Linked DNA regions of Homo sapiens: regions 1, 3, 4 and 5 are each linked to region 2. The links are contacts of gene promoters, found by promoter capture Hi-C in blood cells and fetal thymus (Javierre and others, 2016). All regions are on one chromosome and are shown on one strand. Each heading gives the region's core, a stretch centred on a gene start or on the middle of the fragment in contact. The rest is flanking DNA. Distances are from core to core; before and after follow the strand shown.

Evidence for each region. The method cuts DNA at HindIII sites, captures the fragments that hold promoters and counts their contacts. A CHiCAGO score of 5 or more calls a contact.
Region 1: a contact is called between a fragment that was not itself captured here and the fragment with the promoter of BCL2A1 in region 2, in 1 of 17 cell types (neutrophils). The highest score is 5.6, in neutrophils.
Region 3: a contact is called between a fragment that was not itself captured here and the fragment with the promoter of BCL2A1 in region 2, in 6 of 17 cell types (M2 macrophages, naive CD8 T cells, megakaryocytes and 3 more). The highest score is 7.0, in M2 macrophages.
Region 4: a contact is called between a fragment that was not itself captured here and the fragment with the promoter of BCL2A1 in region 2, in 1 of 17 cell types (total B cells). The highest score is 5.6, in total B cells.
Region 5: a fragment that was not itself captured here is called in contact with the fragment with the promoter of BCL2A1 in region 2 in 1 of 17 cell types (neutrophils); the score reaches 6.1 in neutrophils.

Annotation. Positions count from the first base shown.
Region 1 is chr15:80,144,232-80,146,931 of GRCh38, reverse strand. No RefSeq gene overlaps it. Among named protein-coding and RNA genes, the nearest start is that of FAH, 7.4 kb to the left of the region's middle. The HindIII fragment of the contact is 2,021 bases long and covers 367-2,387 here.
Region 2 is chr15:79,969,763-79,972,691 of GRCh38, reverse strand. BCL2A1 (BCL2 related protein A1) reads left to right here and starts at 1,496. Exons shown (of 2, transcript NM_004049.4): 1 at 1,496-1,992. The coding sequence starts at 1,573. RefSeq lists an enhancer at 873-2,072. The HindIII fragment of the contact is 17,831 bases long and covers 1-2,929 here.
Region 3 is chr15:80,171,777-80,174,592 of GRCh38, reverse strand. It overlaps FAH (fumarylacetoacetate hydrolase), which reads right to left. Exons shown (of 14, transcript NM_000137.4): 8 at 2,345-2,444; 9 at 1,449-1,579. Among named protein-coding and RNA genes, the nearest start is that of FAH, 20 kb to the right of the region's middle. The HindIII fragment of the contact is 8,594 bases long and covers 1-2,816 here.
Region 4 is chr15:80,114,909-80,117,608 of GRCh38, reverse strand. All of the region lies in intron 2 of ZFAND6 (zinc finger AN1-type containing 6), which reads right to left. Among named protein-coding and RNA genes, the nearest start is that of FAH, 37 kb to the left of the region's middle. The HindIII fragment of the contact is 861 bases long and covers 897-1,757 here.
Region 5 is chr15:79,824,805-79,827,650 of GRCh38, reverse strand. LOC124903536 (a long non-coding RNA gene) reads left to right here. Exons shown (of 2, transcript XR_007064730.1): 2 at 1-2,846. Among named protein-coding and RNA genes, the nearest start is that of MTHFS, 71 kb to the left of the region's middle. The HindIII fragment of the contact is 2,720 bases long and covers 1-2,702 here.

The DNA of each region.
Region 1 (2,700 bases), core at 128-2,627, 170 kb before region 2:
AAAGTACAAGGGTTCCCTGTTTTCCACAGCCTCTGCAATACTTGCTGTCTTTTGTTTTTTTGATAATAGCCATTCTAACAGGTGTGAGATGATATCTCATCGTGGTTTTATTTTGCATTTTTCTGATAATGATGTTGAGCATTTTTTCACATACCTGTTGGCCATTTTTATGTCTTTTGGGAAATGTCTATTCATATCCATTACTCATTTTTTAAGAATTAGGTTACTTGTTTTCTTGCTATTGAGTTGTTTGACTTCATTATTTATTTTAGATTCTAATTCCATATCAGATGTGTGGTTTGCAAATGTTTTCTCCCACTTCCTAGGTTTTTTCTTGTCGATTGTTTCCTTGGCTATACAGAAGCTTTTTAGCCTGATATAATCGCATCTGTCTGTATTTGCTTTTGTTGCCTGTGCTTTTGGGTTCATATCCAAAAAATCATTGCCCAGACCAATGACATGGAGCTTTTCCCATTTTCTTCTAGTTTTACAGTTTCATTTCTTAAGTTTACGTTTTTAATCCATTTTGAGTTGATTTTTATATATGGTGTGAGATAAGGGTCTAATTTCATTCTTCCACATGTGGATATCCAATTTTCCCAACATCATTTATTGAAGAGACTGTCCTTTCCCCATCACGTATTCTCAGCACTTTTGTGAAAAATCAACTGGCTGTAAATCTGTGGATTTATTCCTGGGCTCTCTATTCTGTTCAATATGTCTGTTATTATGCCAGCACCATGTTGTTTTGATTACTATAGCTATATAGTAGATTCATTTTGTTTTGTTTTGCTTTGCTTTAGAGACAGGGTTTTGCTCTGTTCTCTGGCTGGAATTCAGTGATATGATCACGGCTCACTGCAGCCTCAACCTCCCAGTGGCTCAAGTGATCCTCCCACCTTAGTCTTCTGCATAGCTGGGACTATAGGCATCTGCCACCATGCCTGGCCAATATTTAAAAAAAAAATGTAGAGATGGAGTCTAGCTATGTTGTGTAGGCTGGTCTCAAACTCCTGGGCTCAAGTGATCCTCCTGCCTCAGCCTCCCGAAGTGCTGGAATTACAGGCATGAGCCACCACATCTGGCTGCTTTGTAGTAGATGTTGAAGTCAGATAGTGTGATGCCTCCAGCTTTGTTCTTTTTGCTCAAGAGTGCTTTAGCTATTCAGCGTCTTTTGCAGTTCCATACATGTTTTAGGATTTGTTTGTTTGTTTCTGTGAAAAATATCGTTACAATTTTGACAGGGATTCCATTGAATTTGTAGATTGCTTTGGGTAGTATGGACATTTTAACAATATTAAGTCTTCCAATCTATGAACATGGGATATCTTTTATGTTGTTTTTTTTTTTTTTGAGACGGAGTTTCGCTCTTGTTGTCTGTCCAAGCTGGAGTGCAGTGGCGCGATCTTTGCTCACCGCAACCTCCACCTCCCAGGTTCAAGCGATTCTCCTGCCTCAGCCTCCAGAGTAGCTGGGATTACAGGCATGCGCCACCACGCCTGGCTAATTTTGTATTTTTAGTAGAGACAGGGTTTCTCCATGTTGGCAGGGTGGTTTCGAACTCCCAACTCAGGTGATCTGTCTGCCTCGGCCTCCCAAAGTGCTGGAATTACAGGCTTGAGCCACCGCGCCTGGCCATATCTTTTCATTTATTTCTGTTTTCTTCAATTTCTTTCATTGATGTTTTCTAGTTATCAGTGTACAGGTCCTTCACCTCCTTGGTTAAATTTATTCCCAAGTGTTTTGTTTGGTTGGGGGTTTTTTGGTAGCTATTGTAAATGAGATTGTTTTCTTAATTTCCAAAAATCCCTTCTGCTACTTCTATTCATCCCCTGGACCGCTGGCAGCCACTTATCTCTTTACTGTCTCTGTAGTCTTGACTTTTCCAGAATGTCATATAATTGGAATCATATAGTATGTAGCTTTTAAGATTGGGTTCTTTCACTTAGCGATATGCATTAAGATTCTTCTATGTCTTTTCCTGCCCTGAAAGTTCCTTTCTATTTTTGTTGAATACTGTTTCACTGTATAAATGTTCCACAGTTTGTTTGTTCACCTATTGAAGGACATCTTGGTTGCTCCCAATTTTTGGCAATTAAGGATAAAGCTGCTAAAATGTCAGTGTGCAAGTTTTTGTGTGGACACTTTTGCTTTTTAACCAAGTATACTTTATTAAATCATTAAAAAAAATTTTTAGAAATGGGGTCTCACTATGTTGCCCAGACCAAACTCAAACTCCTGGCCTCAAGTGACTCTCCTACCTCAGCCTCCTGAGTAGCTGAGGCTGCAGGCTTTTTTTTTTTTAATTGCTATCAGTGTATCTTCTTTGATATCTATTCAGATATTTTGCCCATTTTTAGGTTGGACTGTTTTCATACAATTAAGCTTTTAAGAGTTTTTTGTATATGTTAAATGAAAGCCCTTTATGTGTTTTGCTAATTTTTTCCAAGTCTGTGGCTTGTCTTTTAATTTTCTTAACAGCAGCTTCTGCAGAGCAGTTTTTAACTTTAACAGAGTCCAAGTCATCAATAATTTTTCTTTCCCAAGTTATGCTTTTAGTGTTTTACTTAGAAAAATCGAAACCAAACCTTGAATTTCTTATATTCTAAGTTTTACATTTTTGTGTTTTACATTTATGTCTATGATAAATTTTGAGTTAACTTTTGTGAAAGGTTCAAGGTGTCTAGATTGACTTTTTTT
Region 2 (2,929 bases), core at 247-2,746:
CTCCCAAGTAGCTGGGACTACAGGTGCCCGCCACCATGCCTGGCTAATTTTTTGTATTTTTGGTAGAGATGGGGTTTCACTGTGTTAGCCAGGATGGTCTCGATCTTCTGATCTCGTGATCCGCTCGCCTCAGCCTCCCAAAGTGCTGGGATTACAGGGGTGAGCCACCGTGCCTGGCCCAAAGAGGGTATTTTTTTCTTCCCTCTCGGTATCATCCTTACTCAATTACAAATGATCAAGGGCGGTACTGCCAGAGTCACCTCGAGAGGCCCTGTTCTCTGCCACCCAGGCTGTTTTGTAGTCTCCATTCCAAATTGTCGTTACTCCGGTTTACCCCGTGGATGGCGTTTAAGACTTTTCTTAAATTTGAAATTCACAGAACCATTTTAAAGTGAACAATTCAGTGGCATTTAGTACCTTCGCAGTGTTGTGCAACTTCCACCTCTATCTAGCTGCAAAACATTTTCTTTTCTTTTTTTTTTTGGAGACAGAGTCTCGCTCTGTTGCCCAGACTGGAGTGCAGTGGCGTGATCTTGGCTCACTGCAACTTCTGTCTCCCGGGTTCAAGCAATTCTCCTGCCTCAGCCTCCCGAGTAGCTGGGATTACAGGCACACGCCACCCGCCTGGCTAATTTTTTGTATTTTAGTACAGACGGGGATTTACCATATTGCCCAGGCTGGTCTCAAACTCCTGAGCTCAGGCAATCCGCCCGCCTTGTCCTCCCAAAGTGCTAGGATTACAGGCGTGAGCCAACGCGGCCGGCCTTGTAAAACATTTTCATCACACAAAAGAAAACCTTCTACCCATTAAGCAGTTACTCCTTCCTCTTCTCAGCCCCTGTCAACCACCAATTTGCTTTCTATCCTATGGATTTAACTGTCTGGATATTTCATAGAAATAGAATCACATAATGTATGACCTTTTCTGTTTGGCTTCTTTCTATTAGCCTAATGTTTTTGAGGTTCATTCCTGTTGAAGCATGTATCAGTTCTTCATTCCTTTTTTGGGATGAATAATGTTCCATAATTTATTTATCCTTTCGTCTGTTGATGAACATTTGAGTTGTGTCCACATCTTGGCTATTGTGAATAGTGCTGCCATGTACATTCGTATGTAAGTATTTGAGTATCTGTTGGGTGTATACCTATGAATGGAATTGCTGGGTCTTTTGACAATTCTGTATTTAACTTTTTGAGAAACTGCCAACATTTTCACAGGGGTTGTACCATTTCACATTCCCACCAGCAATCTACAAGGATTCTAATTTCTCCACATCCTGCATTTAAGACTTGCAAAGCTGAATTAATCACAGGATGAGGAAGTGGCTTCTCTGAAACATTTTCCTCTTTCACATTTTAAACTTTCTCTTTCATACATGACATGAAACACAGCCTACGCACGAAAGTGACTAGGAGGAAGGATATTATAAAGTGATGCAAACAGAAATTCCACCAGCCTCCATGTATCATCATGTGTCATAACTCAGTCAAGCTCAGTGAGCATTCTCAGCACATTGCCTCAACAGCTTCAAGGTGAGCCAGCTCAAGACTTTGCTCTCCACCAGGCAGAAGATGACAGACTGTGAATTTGGATATATTTACAGGCTGGCTCAGGACTATCTGCAGTGCGTCCTACAGATACCACAACCTGGATCAGGTCCAAGCAAAACGTCCAGAGTGCTACAAAATGTTGCGTTCTCAGTCCAAAAAGAAGTGGAAAAGAATCTGAAGTCATGCTTGGACAATGTTAATGTTGTGTCCGTAGACACTGCCAGAACACTATTCAACCAAGTGATGGAAAAGGAGTTTGAAGACGGCATCATTAACTGGGGAAGAATTGTAACCATATTTGCATTTGAAGGTATTCTCATCAAGAAACTTCTACGACAGCAAATTGCCCCGGATGTGGATACCTATAAGGAGATTTCATATTTTGTTGCGGAGTTCATAATGAATAACACAGGAGAATGGATAAGGCAAAACGGAGGCTGGGTATGTGTGATGGAAAAATTCTTCATTGTTCTTTCCTGTGAAATAGAAATTGAGAATTTCCTTGCTAGTTAAAACAACAACAAAACACTTTACCTAAGAATACTATTTTCCTTGGGTGGTTTGTTTTAATTTTTAAAATAAAAATATACTTTCTGGCTTATTTCCAATGAATCCTTGAACTTGAACTTTATAGTTGGAAAGCACTTATGTTTTCAGTTTTTATTCTTAACAGTATAAATTACAGTAGTGAGCTTTGGGGATTAATAAAGCACCTCTCTCATGCAGCTTCACAATCAGCTGTGCACACACTCTAATCTAGTACTTAGCTTTTGCTAGGGTTGTCATGACAGTACAGACAGTACAGAAATTTCTACAATCAGCACAGAAAGTTGCTATCAGATGCTGTTATTTTTAGGTATTTATGGGTTGCAAAAGACAGGTGTAAATTTTTGTAAGTTCATCGCTTACAAATTGGTGTTTTTCAGTTTACTAATACATAATAAATAGTAACATATATTAATATATAGCAAATTACATTACATATAATATATAACACATTATTACTAATAATAAATTCCGGGCTGTTAAAGTTTGTTGATTAAAACATAATATACTGTATGACCAGCAAGAACCTTTATTCAAGAATTTTCAAATAAAAATTTACTTTATTATCAGTGCCTAAAAAAGCCAAGACTATGTAGAGGCCTGTGTTGAAACTCATGTTGGTAAAAAGCCTGACACAGCTGGATGTATATGGTTTCCTTTATATTCCAATATACTTAATAATTATTTTTTTAAAGCACTTAAGTGTTCATTGATCCTCTCTCCAACGGCCTTCACCTCTCCCAAGAGGTAACCACTGTTATCAATTATTTTGCATGCAAAACATGCCTACTGAATCTATCCATAGAAAATAAACAATACTTCTTTGTAAAAC
Region 3 (2,816 bases), core at 192-2,691, 200 kb before region 2:
TGGAGCCAGCTAGGGAGGCAGCTTGGATGGCTGGGCCAGAACGCCTGCACTCCGGCCAAAAGCAGTGTTTTCCAAAGCATGGTACATGAGTCACCCACGGGACATGAGATCGTTTTTGGTGATACTAATGGTTATGAAACAGTGTAGCTAGTGATGCCAGTAGGAATATAAAGTTCCCTTCTTAATATATTAAGTTTAAACTGGGAGCCACTCTGAAGGAAAACATTAAGTAAATAATAGTTCAGAGGGGGAATAGTAGTGTTGTACCTAAATGGTGTTGGGGAAGGGCTGGCACAGAGGAAGGCAGGCAAAACCCTGTGATGACCGACCCGGAAGAAGGCAGATGACTGGAGGACAAGCAAAGAGAGGCTGTGGCCTTGCAGCCCTAGGGAGACTAGACAAGGCCGCTGCCAGCTAGAGAGAAAGTCAAGTCCTGGCGACTGAAAATGACCAGGGTGGGCAGGGGGTGCTGTGGTAGGGAGCAGCGAGGAGAGAGCAAGGGATGAGGGTGAAAGCCCCACAGGACTTCACTAGAACTGGCTTGCAAGGAAAGACCTCAGGGTTGTTTGTAGCACAGCAAACATGAGATGACCCCAGAGGCAGAGGAGCATGGGAGAGCAGTGTGGGTGCAGGACCAGCACCGGGTGTTGGTAGAGGCCCCCAGCAAATGCGTGGTGAGATGCTCAAGCGAGGATGTGCAAATGGCTGGGAGCTCAGCCTGGATCCCCACAGGGAGGTCAGAATTGGAGAGGGGCATCGTGAGGACTCAGAGACACTGGAGAACGAGGACAGGTCACATGCCAGAAACCAAGGGGTGAGGGAATGCCAACAAGAGTGAGGGGCCACAGGAAGTCCATGCTGAAGGGGACACAAGGTCATGACACTGACTATCGGGTCACAGGTGACTCTGGCCAGGTGTTGCCAGTGATGGAGTGGGGCAGATTGCAACAGGCTGAGAAGGGAGGACTGGAACCAGGGGTCAAGGCCTAGACCCAGTGGTAGACCAAGCGGTGCCGGGAACCAGAGGCTGCAGGGACTCCCTGTTGCTGGGCTCCAAGCTGCATTCTATGAGTTGGGGTCCAGGTGGCGCCATTTGCACAGAACAAGATTTGATGGCCACCTGGGAGGTTGTGCAATGTTGGTACCTGCAGGGACTCCTCCTGCCAACTGGCCAGATCCCCCGGGTCTTGCAAGATTCTTAAGGTTACAAAATTCTGTGTTTTCTCCAAGAACTGTGCCAGGGCCAGGGAAACCACAAGGGAGAATGATGCCCTGGCTGCCTGGAAGTAATCGTGGCCAGGAACTCCCAGGCACTCTGCTGTGGGCATGCCGTGGGCACAGAGCTTCCCTCCTGATGGTCTGCATGCCTGGCATGTCCACTCAGTGGGCAAGCAGCCTCAGAGGCAGCAGGGCTGGGTTTGGGAGCTTCCTGCAGAGAATGTGCTTACCTGCTTCGGGTTGGGCACAGCAAAGGGCATGAGAGCATCCATGGGCACCACCCACGGAGAGACAGTGGTCCCAAAACTCTTCCCAAGGAATGGCCCGAGAGGGACATACTCCCACTTCTGAATGTCTCGTGCTGCAGAAGAAGGGCACAGCCAGGACTTACAAAGGCTGATCAGGGCATCTCCCAACGACCCCCTCCTGCCCTTGACCAAGGAGCAGAGACACCTAGCACTGCCATCTCCACAAAGATCAGCCCCAGTCAGGCTGCCCCAGGACAAAGGGGCAAGAGCATTCAATGCCAAGGACAGAGGTCCTTTGAGGGCACTGTGCCAGGTTACAGCAAAGAGAAGGATGACCAAACGGTGGTCAGGATATCTCCCAGGAAGGGGCTGGAAGCTCATTCTCAAACTATGAGAGAGACACTTTCTGGGGCTTATGGTGCCATCTTCCTCCCACGTATGGCAAAGGGTTGAGAGCTCAGGCTCAGAAGCTGGACTGTTTTGCTTCAAATCTTAGTTCAGCAACTAACTGAAATCTCCCTGTGCCTCAGTTCCTCATCTGTAAAATGGGAAGATAATATTGCACATACCGTGTAGGGATCAGCGGGAGAATATACGAAGGGTGTTAAGCACAGGGCCTGACACATAAGTGCTCAGTAAATATTAGTTATGATGTCAGCCGTGTCCCTAGCCACTCGAGAAAATTGGAGCTCAGAGGAGTTAAGTGAGTGGCCCGAGTTCTTAGAGCTGAAAGTCTGTTTGATACCCAGACCCCCACTCTCAGTCACTGCATCACCTGCCACTTTTGACCTGCACCAGATCTTCAGCTTCTATGAAATTGCCCCAAGTCCCCAGCCTCCTCCCCGTCATCTCTACAGGAGCAGAGCTCCAGTAATTACCACTCCAGTCGTTCATAAGGACCATTCCAAAAATGTGCTCATGGGCCTTGGAAATGGGGATCGGCTCTCCCAATCTGTTTCCAGGGCCTACAAAAAAAGCCTTACATGGGGGAGAGTTCATTAGAATCTGGAGCTGATCTGCCGCCCAGGTCACTTGTCACCTAGAGAGCAAAGGTCAGGTATTTCCAAACTCCAGCCATGGACCAGGACTGCCACAGGGGCCTGGCATGAATCCACTGTGTTTCTAAGTCAGAGGTCAGATGGACGCCTCAGGAAAGCAGAGTGCAGTGGTGTGCCCTGCCCCCGCCATCGGCCTTCCTTCCACTCCCCTGAGCTCCAAAGCAGCCTCCCCTCCCTTCAGTGCATCCCAGGCCACTCTGCTCTTTCCTCTTCATCCCATACAGCCTTTGCCTTTCAAGACTTGACAGCCACATGAGGCTTGTAAAACTGAAACTATCAGGGTTTGTATTCA
Region 4 (2,700 bases), core at 78-2,577, 150 kb before region 2:
TGAGCTGACTGAACTGCCTTTTTCATGGAACACGTTTCTTATTTGAAAGAATGACTAATAAACTGGTTATTAAGACCTGAGTATTCAGGCTGGGCACGGTGGCTCATGCCTGTAATCCCAGCACTTTGGGAGGCCAAGTCAGGAGGATCACGAGGTCTGGAGATAGAGGCCATCCTGGCTAAGACATTGAAACCCCGTCTCTACTAAAAATACAAAAAATCAGCCAGGCATAGCGGCAGGAGCCTGTAATCCCAGCTCCTCAGGAGGCTGAGGCAGGAGAATGGCATGAAGCCAGGGGGCGGAGCTTGCAGTGAGCCAAGATCGTGCCACTGCACTCCAGCCTGGGCAACAGAGCGAGACTCCGTCTCAAAAAAAAAAAAAGAGTATTCAGTAGATATTTTTGTAAATGAACAAAGTGCACTCATCACTTCAAACATCTAATAGTATCTGTTATCAAAGACAACAGTCAAGTGAAAAAAACCTTGACAAGCATCTCCAATATTCTGAGAGTTTCTGATAAGATTCATGGTGATATTAATTAAATGTGATTAGTTGCTACTATATCAATATTTGAAATATCATCCTAAGACACTGAATCAGTATTTTCTAAGCAACCAATGTTGGTTGCTTAGCAAGAAATAGTAAGAAATTACTCATGAACAGAAGATCCATTCAAAGTGAAAAGCCAATGAATTTTAATGTAACAGGACAAAAAGTTTTATATCAGGGTATCCAATCTTTTGGCTTCCCTGGGCCACAGTGGAAGAATAATTGTCTTAGGCCACATATAAAATACATTAATACTAACGACAGTGGATGAACTAAAATAAATAAATATATAAATAATGCTTTAAGAAAGTTTATGAATTTGTGTTGGGCCACAGATTGAACAAGCTTGTCTTGTATGGTTTCAATTTCACACTGCAACTATCCTTTAAGAAACTATCGTCAAGTTTTAGTGTAATATCAAAGAACCTCTATTATCTGATAATGTTATTAAAATATTCTTTCCAAATACATATGAGCCCAGATTTTCTTTATAACACTATAACAGATTGAATGCCAAAGCAACTACTAGAATGTTGTTATTAAGGCAGACTTTTTAAAAAATCTGCAAAAATGTGTTAACAATGCCACTCTTCTCATTAACAAGTGTGGGGGAGAGGAAAGTGGTTATTTTCCTAAAATATTTTAAAATAAACTAGTACTTAAAACATTTTCTCAGCTTTAATTTTTAATATGATTTCACTAGATATAACTCTCACACACAAAAGCCCTTCGGGATATTTACACCAAAATTTTGAGAATCCACTGCTTATAAAACGTGCACTCTCAGTATAGACAGTTTGCCCCTCAAGGGAGAAAACACTGATTTTTGGAGGAAAGGGTCACAAAAACCCTTACTCTTGTATAAAACACAGATATACATAAAATACATAAACAGACCTGCAATATCTCTCTGGAGTTAAAATCTTCTGGAGGTGGGGGCCACTTAAGAAAAAAAAAAACAAAAAAAAAACCTAAAAAGGCTCCTTAGGGAAAAAATAGAGAAAAAAGACTGAGGAACTCGGGTCTAAACCACCAACTATGCTATACTGCTTATTAACAACATTAAAGTGTAAGAGAGGAATTAAAGGAACTCTCCCAATGATACTGGTAAATATATGGCTAGCAACCAAACAGTAAAAGGATAAATATATTTCCATAAAAACTCAAGTAAAAAGTCATAGATGAAAGTACAATATGACCACTAAGCTTTTCATTACAATTACTTCAAAACATTAAGATTAAAGTTTGAAAACTTGTAACACTACCAATTTTCCCAAGTCAAACTGCCTGCACGGCATCAAATTAACAATGATTTTCATAACTCAAGAGGCACAAAGGGTTTCTCACAGGATTCTTAAAAAAAAAAAAGAATCAGTCTTATTTATTAATCGTTAGGCCATAAAATGTACCTTTACATGAAGAGTCAGAAAGACTGAAAAAGACAAAAAACCATAAAGAGTAATTTAGTTTATCTGAATGTGTAATGGCATAGATGGGGTAGCTATGAAGAAACTGGAAGTCCTGCCTCCCTCCCTTTGCTACTATACCTTTTTGGGGCAATCAGTCTGGCATTCAAATGATCAGGGAGGAAAAGGGATAAGGGGAGAAAAGGCAGAACAATTCCTTAACTGCTGCACTGTGGAATTATAAAACCACAAATCCAGAGACAGAGAGTAAGATCACTCTACCAGATACTTTAAAAATGATTAGCATGGTATAATAAACAAAAGCCTATGAATTGAAGAGAATTCATAAAATGTGACTTTTGACTGTTCATAACATTCGTAGTCAAATCCCCAACCTATTACTCCCTCTAACATCCCAGACAATACTTAACAGTTATTCAGAGTTTACTATGTGCCAGGAACTCTTTTTATTGTTTATTTATATCTCATTTAATCCTCTCAAGAACACTATGATGTTGGTGCTGTTGATATCCCTATTTTAAAAACAAAAAAAAATGATACTCAAAAAGACTTAGTAACTTGCCCAAGTTCCCCTTCTGGTAAGCAGCTAAGTCAGTGTCTTTTGATCTAAAAAACAAAACAAAACAAAACCAACAACAAAAAAGAGAACTGTCAAAGTCCATCATATCCCTGAAAACCTATAATTTTCTGAGCATTCATTAATTCTTATTAGTTTCATTTAAGT
Region 5 (2,846 bases), core at 93-2,592, 140 kb after region 2:
CGCTCCTTTTTGGTGATGGCTGCACTATTTTTGTTTCCCCAGGATGGTGGGGCAGCAAAGCTCTGCTTAGCTTTGTAGACTCCTGGCTGCCAGTTTCTACTTCATTTCTCCTCTTGGCTTCTTCACTGATCAGTTTCTACAAAGCACAACTTCTCAGCTTTTAAGTTTTTCTTAAGAATCAACAAATGCTTTGAGGCAAAAAGCTGTGCCAAATATCAGGTTCAGTTCTGTGCTTTCTTTCTCTCTGAGATCTTGGTGCCGTAAGACCTCACCACATTTGATAGCTCTCTGATGCGTTCAAACAGGGCATTTCTATTTGTTCTTGGTAGTAGAGTTGATCTGAATATATTAGCCTATCAAAGGCAGAAATGGAACTCCCTGATAGTGGTTTTTAATCTCTTTGGGTGATTTGAATGTAAGATGCACTGGACAAAATCAACTCCTTGCCACATCATAAGAACCACCTTAGTCTGTTGTTTAAAAATGTTGATTTTTCTGGTCCTATCCTAGATGTACTGAACCAGAATTTCCAGAAAAAAAAGACTGATTTGTTGTGCTAGCAAGTGCTTCTGACAAAGGCACACTTGAGAAGCACTGAATAAGTGGCTCTTTAGAGTCCTTCTTGCTCTGGTTGCATATTCTGGTGACCCTAGTGACCCCACCCACCCAATGAACCCTGTATATATAGTGGCAGGAAGGAGCCTGGTTATTCTGATATGCAGAGGGGCAGCATGCTGCCTTTACCACCACCTTCGACTTTAGTTTGCATTCTGTAACTCTCTCCAAAGAGAGAGTGGTAGCTCTCTTTGCTGAATTATTTCTAATTTTTTCCATGGACATTTTAATCAGAGATGACAAATGACTGGTCTTTTGCTAGCAGTTCAATCTAAGAGGAAGTTATTTGCCTCTTAGAGGTACATTAATTTGCGATGGCTTTCATGCAGAAGGCAGAGGGATATTGTGGAAAGGGACTTGGATTCTGGGAATCAGGTATAAGCCCAGGGTACTTGGCTTGGGAATTGTAGTAGTCACTTGCCCCTTCCCTTCCTCCCTCCACTAATGTAAGTTTCCTTTGCCTGCTTGAGGGTATCTCCAAATTAGGTTCTTTTCCAGCTGCCAGTGGTAGGACTAGAGTGCAGTTCTGACCCTGGTCTCTGGAACCCTTTCTCACCCCTGCTGGCTCCTCTCCAGTGGATTCCCCACTGTCCTGCACCAACTCCCTCCCCTTCGTCTCTCACCCACCTCCTTTTCTCCTTTTCTTCTCTTGTCCTTCCCTTCTCTTCTCCTCACCTCCACCCCAATCTTCTTTCCCCCGTTCCAGAATCAGAACAGAGGCAGTAGTGTCCTGTTGTGGACCCTCCCTCAACTGCTTCAGCCTTCTCCAGGACCAGCTGTCAGCAGAAGTGGAGCTCATGCAGGAGGGCAAAATGGTCCAATTCCTTTTCTCAGGGCTATCTAGCAAGACCAGTTCCTGTGGTTCTCTCTGGCTCATGTGAGGATGCTTCCCACTTTGGAGGTCTATGGTTGTCCTAGTCCGTGGCTACCCAGTAAGTGCTACTCAAATCAGTAGGAAAACAATGAAGTGTGCCCAGTGGTAAAGGGGCAAAGGACATAAACAGGTAATTCACACAAGAGGAGACACAGATAGCCACAAATATAAGAACTATTTAATTTCACATTTCATCAAAGAAATGCAAGCTGAAACCATGTGAGTAGTAAAAAATAATCAAACCAGTTAAGTTTGGGCTATGATGCAGGGAAATGGACACTCATACTGCTGGGAGAGTGTATGTTTTTTAGTCTTTCTGGAGAGAAAGTTGGCAGAATATAACAAAAATCTTATAATTTTCTATGACTTTTGACCCTGTCATTCTACTTTCAGGAATTCATCCCAGTGAAATAATGTATGCGATTTGCAAAAGTTCTATACAAGTATATTCAGCATGAGGCTGTTTTATTGTAATAGTGATGACTGCTGCTACCCAGTGAAATACAACCATACAATAATAAGGGGTTGCTACATTCATGCCAGTTGTACACTCTGTTGTCATTAAAAACATCATACACAAATATTTAAAGAGGAAGAATGTCCAAGCTCTTTTTTAAAAAAATAAAATAAAAGCAGTGTATCACAATAATTGTATTTTGGTGGGGAGGAACCAGCATAGAAAAAAGATCAATGGATGCAAAATGTTACCATGTCTGTCTTGTGTGTTTTATCATACACAAAAATCTAAGTAATATGATTATTAAAAAAGAGAAGAAGAAAACAAAAATACTGATTCCTAGCATGTAGGAAGACTGGCCTGCATTCTAGTCCTGAATTTGCCTCTTGTTCTCTGTGAGGCTTTGGACGGGTCACCTTGGCTCTTTTGATGGGCAGTTTCCTCATCTATAAAGCAGATCTGGCCACGCGTAGCAGCATTCATGTCTGTTCAGTGCTTTACCAGTCCCTTTGCTAACCATTGTTTTACTTTGATCTCACATCTGTGCCTTGTAGATCAGCACTTTGTGGGCTGTTGGCTATTTTACTATCACTTGATAATTCGGTATCTCCAAATTAGGTTCTTTTTCCAGCTACCAGTGGTAGGACTAGAGTGCAGTTCTGACCCTCGTCTCTGGAACCCTTTCTCACCCCTGCTGGCTCCTCTCCAATGGAGAAACTAACCTTATTTTCATGTACTGTGATACAAAGAAAAGCTTCTTAAGGGTTATTGGAAGGCAAGCATTTGAAGGAACTAGAGTAGCCTGGCTAATGACCTGGTGCAGTGGCTGAGTTACAGCTGGTCTGGAGGGCAGATGATCCACAAGGTTGGGTCTGGGGTCAGTTAGTAGTTGAGGATGGG